Linked DNA regions of Homo sapiens: region 2 is linked to region 1. Evidence: promoter capture Hi-C in human tissues and cell types (Jung and others, 2019). All regions are on one chromosome and are shown on one strand. The core of a region is centred on a gene start or on the middle of the fragment in contact, and the rest is flanking DNA. Distances in the headings are between cores, read along the strand shown. Region 1 holds the start of HEPHL1 (hephaestin like 1). Region 2 has its middle 40 kb from the start of HEPHL1.

Region 1 (3,904 bases), core at 449-2,948:
TAAATCAAAGTTGTAAAGAGCCTGGCTATGAAACAGGATACTCAGTATGTATTTTATTATTTATTTATTTATTTATTTACTTATTTTGAGAAGGAATCTTGCTCTTGTTGCCCAGGCTGGAGTGCAGTGGCACAATCTTGGCTCACTGCAACCTCCACCTCCCAGGTTCAAGCGATTCTTCTGCCTAAGCCTCCCAAGTAACTGGGATTACAGGCGCCTGCCACTACGCCCGGCTAATTTTTGTATTTTTAGTACAGACAGGGTTTCACCATGTTGGCCAGGCTGGTCTCAAACTCGTGACCACAGGTGATCTGACTGCCTTGGCCTCCCAAATTGCTGGGATTACAGACCTGAGCCACCGTGCCTGGCCTTTTATTAATTAAGATGAATGCTAATACAAACTGTGCTATGGGACATTTATAGGGTAGCTACCATTTAAAGAAAAAGAATTCTCTTACTTGAGACTGGTGGAAGGCATGGCAGATAGGACTTTGGCAAAGAATAGTGGAAAGAAAGTTGAAGACTGCGGGGAAACACAAGTCTGTGGATACACAGGTTGATACAGTCTCTCTTAGAGGGCATGAATGGGCAGGAAGGACTTTAACACTTACTTAGTACCTACCCTATGCTAGGGGCTGGGGTAAGCACTTTGCAGACATCATCTTTTAAAAAGTTCCTTAAGAATCCCTCAATCCTTCTTCTATAGTCTCCAGCTCAATGATGTTAAGTGATTCCTCCATGCCACTAAATTGGAAAGTGGTGGGAACTCACATTCAAACCCAGGTCTGACCAACTTCAAAGGCCAGGAGGCTGTTTCCTTCATTCCATGGCTGCTCCCTCAAGAGTAACTGTGCATGGGGATAAGAGTAACTCTTTTCCAAGGTTGATCAAGGTCTCTTTCAATACCGAGATTCTGGGACACAGATTAGAAGACACAGAAGAATGGCCCAGCCTTTTCCACCCAAAGACCTGTTACTGAATTTTGTCTCCATGTGTCTGAAGGGTACTTCCCCATCATCATTTTCATTCATCCTAAGAAAGGCGGCTCCCTGTGTGGAGGTGGTGGCCGCGAACATTTTGGCTGAACTGAGCAGTCAACCTTCTCATTTTTGCTGGAAGGATTTGAGAGAATATGGGGGAGATGGTACACGAGCCAGTGGAGGATTAGTGGGGTTTTATGTTGTTGTGATGAACTTTATGATGTTAGTTTGTGGTTTCACATAGCCTCATAAAACAAGCTGGATGGTGATTATGTCACTTCCTCTGCCCTCCCGACAGAGAGGAGGCCTTCTTTAGTGCCTGGAGTGTTTCCTGATGCTCCACTCAGGCCAGCTCACTTTTCAGATTTTAATGTAAGAGGTGTGGAGAAGAAAAGAAGAAGAAGGGGTGGGGGAAAGCCATCGGCTCAAGTAGTCACACTGTCATCCTGGCTGACAAATGACTGATGTCAGAGCATGGTACCGAAACGTATAGAAACAGGCCTGTTGGCTTGGGCAATACATAAATGAGCCAGTCACACATTTCTCGGATGGCTGGCAAAAGTTTTGTTGTCAAAGCAACGCCCCCATCGAGCTTGCTTTGCTTACGCAAGGCCTCAGCCTTTGCCTCTTCCCCAAACCCAAGCTACCTGAGGAGGAGGAGCTGAGTGAGGGGGAGGGACCAACAGATTTGTCCCCTGTGCAGGCTGCCTGCCTGCTTGAGTTACATCCACAAATGCCTCGGAAGCAGCCAGCTGGCTGCATCTTTCTCCTCACATTCCTGGGTCTGTCTGGGCTGGTTGGCACAGTTACCAGAACGTACTACATTGGGATTGTGGAAGAATACTGGAACTATGTACCCCAAGGGAAGAATGTTATTACTGGGAAAAGTTTCACAGAAGACAAGTGAGTGAACTTAGGGTCCTCATTGACTCCCAGGTTTGGCCTCTTTTTGACTTTGTGTGGGGAAGGTTGTATTTCTTGGGTACTTACAATGGGGGTGAGTTGATCTAGACCAAGAGAAGGTGTTTTGTTTTTTGCTTGAAGAGCCCTAGTATGGATGGGTGTGTAATCTGGAAGAGATATTCATAGCTCCATGTATTTGTTGAGCCACCTATTAATAGCCTTGCCTGTGAAGGGACATATACACAACCAGGTGTTTGACAATTTCCACCAGGTACTACTAGTAACTTCTGGGGGATTCTGTTTGTTTGTTTGTTTTTAAATGACAACACTTGGGATGAAGATTTGAGAAATTTCAAGAATTCCTTATGGTTAAAACACAGTGTTTTCTTAGTTTGTATTTCTGGAATGAAACATCATAATGGGAGATAAGTATGCTAAGTCATGTTTTTCAACGTTTAAAAGAGGGGGAAGTCACAGGAGATTTGCCTGCTATTTTCAGGGTTTCCTTGAGTCTACTTAGAATTAGCGCTTTCACTGGTAAAAAGTTTATTCCAGCTCCAAGTCATTCTTGCTGAGGGCAATATCTTATCCCAGAACCTATAGCATAGCTAGGTGAGATGGCGCCACGGTGTTCTATGTTCCTGATTTTTAATTTGGGGCAGAAAATAACCCTTTCTCCCTGCCCCCTCCAGGGCCTAGTATCTTAACCATCTAATTTGTTTCATGGATCTCCCTCTGAAGTCACCTCCTGACTCCAGAAGATGTCATGCTATTTTCAACTTTGTGGTTATTAGAACATCTTTTCAGATGTTTTGGCAACCTCTGTTGGATATTTGAATGCTTGCTTCTTTTCTGACAGGCAGAACCAGTTGCATTCTGCATCCATGTTCCATTTCCTAAAGATGAGTTTAGTTGATAAAATTCAGGAACAGCACAGGGCCTACCAGCAAGTCTTTAAGAGCCAGGGCCCCTTGTCTTTGAGGAAAGACCAAAGATCCAGTTGGCTTGGAAATACAGCTTCCAAGTTTTCTAACAAAACAAAGGTGGTATAGTCATGTTTTGTTTACCAAAGATGAAGCCTGTGCCAGACAAGCTGCCAAGGCAGACTTTTCCTTAAGCTTTGTACCTGGAAATGTAATGTCTGCAGGGCTATTTCCAAAGGAAACTCTTGATTGCTTTCAATCCCACATCTGCTGACCATTGGTGGTAGTGTCTTTACTGTGATGAATAGCTATGGGATTGAAAGGGTACCAAAAATGCCAGGAGCCTTCTCTACAAATAGAGCTCTGCTATTCTCAGAGAGGGCTCAGTAGGAAACAGTCAATGTGAGCAGCTACTGGGGATAAGAATGTTGAAAGTGTGTACACTGAGTGTAATGAATATAGCGTTTAAGCTAAATGTGATACTGGATTGCCTTTCCATAAGATTAACACCCACAGAAATTCTTCTTCCTAAAATGCCCACGTCACTATAGCTGTGTATGGGCATTTATTCTGACCCAAAAATTCTATGAGGGATTTTTCAATTCATTACTGCTTGCAGATATTATTATTCTCATTTTATGAACCAGGAACCAAGGCTCTGAGGTTAAATACTTGCCGGAGTTTATAAGTAAGTGGTAGCACCAAACTCATTGCTTTGGTTCCACAGCCCATATTTCTTTTCACCACACAATCTGTTTCTTGGTAAAGGTGATCCTTCTCCAGTGAATTAAAACAACTTTGAGGGAAGCCAAGGATCACAGTAATAAGAACTTTCTAGAAAGTCCTAATTTTTGCCAAAGGCATGTTTAGTCTCTTTTGTCACTCTTCCTAGAAGCATATTGAAAGGGATCACTGGTGGTCAGTGACCAAACAAGTTATCTGGGTTAATTCAAAACCTCAAAGAATCATAAATACTCAAGTACTACAATGCTGTTTTCACAAAGTGGGGTGCTGGAAGAAGTTGGGGTCTCTGTTGATCATTTCAACCAGAAGATGGTGCTTTGATGAAAGTACAATAAAACATATAAAAATTGCTAT
Region 2 (3,904 bases), core at 1,053-3,552, 39 kb before region 1:
TAGAAGAGCTGGATTTAGATACATTCCTTGAAAAAGGTGGAAGGTGCAGAGAAGAAAAATGATGGAATTTGAGGAAACTCTGTTGGGGAAAGGAACAGAAGTATAGAACACTAATATGGAACTGACAAAACATCTGTTTGGCTAGAACATAGGCAGCATGGTAGGAAATATATATGAGATTACAGAGGTGTGGGCTGTGCAGAGGTGTGGCCTGCATAGTTGGAGAGTCTTGATTACAAACTGAGAAGCTTAGATGGGTTACAACAGGTAACTGGGAGGCACTAAGTGGAAAACTGCCACGTGAAAAATAGAGGTTAAGAAGGATCTTCCTGGCACAGAAAGAAAAAAGAGCAAAACTTGGGAATACTGGAGTTTGGAGACCAATTTGGAAGTTGTGATCATTTTAGAGCAGTGCTGTCCAATAGAAATATAATGCAGGCCACATGTATAATTATAGATTTTCTTATAATAAAAGTTGAAATAGTCAAAGAGAAAAAATGAAGTTCATTTAAATAACATATTTGTTATCATATCCCAGTTTTATCCCAATGATTAAAAATAAAAGTTAAACATGTAATCAATATACAAATTATTAATAAAATATTTAACATGATTTCATAGGAAGTCTTTGAATTCCAGTGTGTATTTATACTTACAACACATCTCAACTTGGATTTTAAATTTTTGATGGAAATGCTTGATATGTGTTTAGATAAAATTTATAAAATTTACAGTTGAAAAAGCAGATTCACATACTTAGGTTGTATCAAACATACCGGAACATTTCCCAATAATTGAATTGAGTATCAGTTATTAAATTTAAATTAATTAGAGACAAAAATTCAGTTTCTCCATTATACTAGCCATATTTTAAGAGCTCATCTAGCCTCATGTGGCCAGTGGTCACCATACTGAACACTCAGATTTAGAAGCTTGTTTTGGGGTGTTAGCCAGGAATAAGTGCTTAAATGGAGGAAGTTTCCAATCAGAATTATGCCTATCTTGATGCACTCAAGAGCAGAGGGAGTAAATTCAGTCAGAGAGAGAATAAAGACAGTCTTTTGTGTCTTAAAAGGTTATAAGTTTCCTGAAGACACAGACACAGTTCTGCTCACAGTGTTTTAATCTTTACCGAGCACAGCACTTGAAATGCTTGTAAGATACTAACTAACCTAAGGAAACCATTTCAACTTAACTCTTGAATTCTTTTCAGCCTTCTCAGAACACACTAGTTTGTTCATATGTGTCTGAATTTACAAATCCATGTTTATCTTCTAGTCATTGTCAGCATCTGATTGCAGAGCAGGTATGAAAGTATATTTGATTTCAGAGTTTCTGCCTGACTCTGAAGGGCCCTAAATTAGAGAACGTTGTGCAGTTTCAGAAAAGCAGGCCAAACGGAGCTTGAGTTGTATGTTCTCTCCTTTTTGCCTCTTCTAGTCCTTCTTACATTACTACCCTGTTTCTTCCTCCTTTGCATTATGATTAATTTCTGCAATAAATGCATAAAATTGTCTCACAGCTTTATAGAAATTGGAGAACTTCTGATCTTATCCTATTATTTCTGCAGAGAGCCTTGACCACTGCTCTATGAGAGGACGACAGTAAGCTCCTGACCCTGCAGAAGGGCCCTCTAACTCCTTTCTCAGTGTATTTGTCAGGGTTCTCTTGAGGGACAGAGCTAATGATCTAGACTGTAAGTTCTGGAAAGTTCTAGTTGTCACCTCTCAGCACTTACCAAGGGGATTTGGACATAGTAAGTTTCTACTCTATTCTGATTGATTTAAGATACAGTGTCCCCTCGGAAATGTTAGCAGTTATTTCCATAACCAGTTTTCTCCTGTAGTCCTAGAATCTCTTCTGCCACTTTGCTGATGGGTCTTTATCCCTTATGTCTTGATTTTTTTTAATGAGTCTCTAACAAGAGGTGTGTAGTTTATATGTTCATAAATCATAATATTTTGGCTCAAATAATTCATTAATTTGTTCATATATTGTCCCTCCCTCCCTTTGACAGTTTTTTAGTATTGGCTTTTTGCTGTGTGCAGAGCTGGGTAGCAGAGAGGCAAAAAGCAGCCCCAGACCTTGGGGAGGTCAGAAATGAGTGTGGATAACAGGCAGAATAAATAACAGCTGTAACACAATGTGGTAGGTGCTATAATAAGGCTCATGTACCAGGTAATGGAATCATAAATCCAAAATCATAGAGCCATCTGTCATTTATTTAACAAGTATTAATATTTAGTAGGTACCTGTTGAATGCCAGGCACTATGCTGGGTGTTGGGAATACGATGGTGAGGCAAGACAGATCTTAAAGAGCTTTCAAGCCTAGCTTATATGTCTTGTAAATTATTTAGGAGGAATTTTTGAGGCTGTCTGTTGCAATTTTCTTATCTGATGAAAAAATTCTTGCTACAATTGCCTTGGCAAGTGCCATTTACGTTAATGTGGTCTGTGACCAGTGATATGAAACTCATGGATTAATTTATGTCTAGTGTTGAACATTTGTAAATGTTGGTTATTCTGCTGTATTTTGAGTGAAACTGAAGTAAAAATTATGTATTTCAGGGCTGAAAAGTGCCTGCTAGAAAACTTCAACTCGTTTTTTTTCATGTGACCAAAAGATGCATTAACATTCACTAAAATATAAGCTTCAGGAGGATGAGATTTTGTCTTTTGTTCATGACTTTACTCACAATACCTACCCTGGACTAGAGTTAGGCACATATTTTAGGATTAGTTTCTGAAATGAACATAGAAAGTTTTTTTTTTTTTAATAGAGACAGGGTCTCATTGTGTTGCCTAGGCTGCCTCTGACTCCTAGGCTAAAGAAATCCTCCCACCCCAGCCTCCCAAAATGCTGGGATTACAGGTGTAAGCTACTGCACCTGGTTGAAGGCTTTTAAAAAAAAATCTAGGCAAATCAGCAGAGAGCCAGACATAGTAGTTTATTATTTCTATTAATAAATAATGAAGCACATGCATGTGTGTGAATGAGTGAATAATGATAATAATAATCATATATTGTGTATAGAGTATGCATTAGGTTCTTTACATAATTTATCTCAATTTCTTCTCACAGTAATATGGGAGTATTTGTTAAGCCCCATTCTACTGGTGGGTCGACTGCTATTTAAATAACTTGCTGAGGCTAACATATTTGTCAAGTATTAAAGCTTAGGCTAAAGCATTCTTTGCACCTTCTTGTGGCTAGTTGTTATTTTTGCCTGTATGCTGGAGATTTTAGGGTGTATGGGCATTCCACAGGTTTGCTTCCATTGGCACAGGAGGGTAACTGGACAAGCACAGACAAAGGTACACTGAGGAAATAGCCAAGCAAAAGTTGAACAATCTTTGTGGCACTATTGAGCCAGGGGTCAATCCAGGGGGCCAATTGTAAGCATGCCGCATATATTATTATAATAAGAATAGTAACACTGCTGTGGTAACAGGCTGGAGAGACAAATTCTTTGTTCACTTTACCATACTTTACCTTCCCCTTGCCCTTTTACATATTGTAGAGAACTACATTTCCCCAAATATCTTGTCGACTGGCTTCTGGGTGTCAAGCCCAGTAGGATGCATTGGCCAAGATATTTCTGCCTCTCCTGATTAGCTTTGGGTGGCACTTCTGGCAGTGGATGTCTCCTCTGGGCCCCAACTTCTGCAAGATTACCTCTCACTTTGTGATCCCAACTCTGACTGGCAGCTCCCACTATGGTTGTAGCTCCAGCCAGACCATGCTTGTGTTTTAGTTCTGACAACACCACCTTCTCCTGTTGTCTATCAGGGTGTAGGGAGGGAACAGTATTCTGTTGCTAATCACCGGGCTGCCTCAACCATCTCATGGTTGGTTTCCAAGCTCTTTCATCTTTCGTATAACCAATTCCTTGTATTAAATCC

Evidence for each region. The method cuts DNA at HindIII sites, captures the fragments that hold promoters and counts their contacts. A contact is called where the count stands out against the background at its distance.
Region 2: a contact is called between a fragment that was not itself captured here and the fragment with the promoter of HEPHL1 in region 1, in 3 of the 25 tissues and cell types used here (bladder, liver and neural progenitor cells).

Annotation. Positions count from the first base shown.
Region 1 is chr11:94,019,656-94,023,559 of GRCh38, forward strand. It overlaps HEPHL1 (hephaestin like 1), which reads left to right and starts at 1,699. Exons shown (of 20, transcript NM_001098672.2): 1 at 1,699-1,883. The coding sequence starts at 1,714. The HindIII fragment of the contact is 8,979 bases long and covers 1-3,904 here.
Region 2 is chr11:93,979,590-93,983,493 of GRCh38, forward strand. No RefSeq gene overlaps it. Among named protein-coding and RNA genes, the nearest start is that of HEPHL1, 40 kb to the right of the region's middle. The HindIII fragment of the contact is 3,424 bases long and covers 591-3,904 here.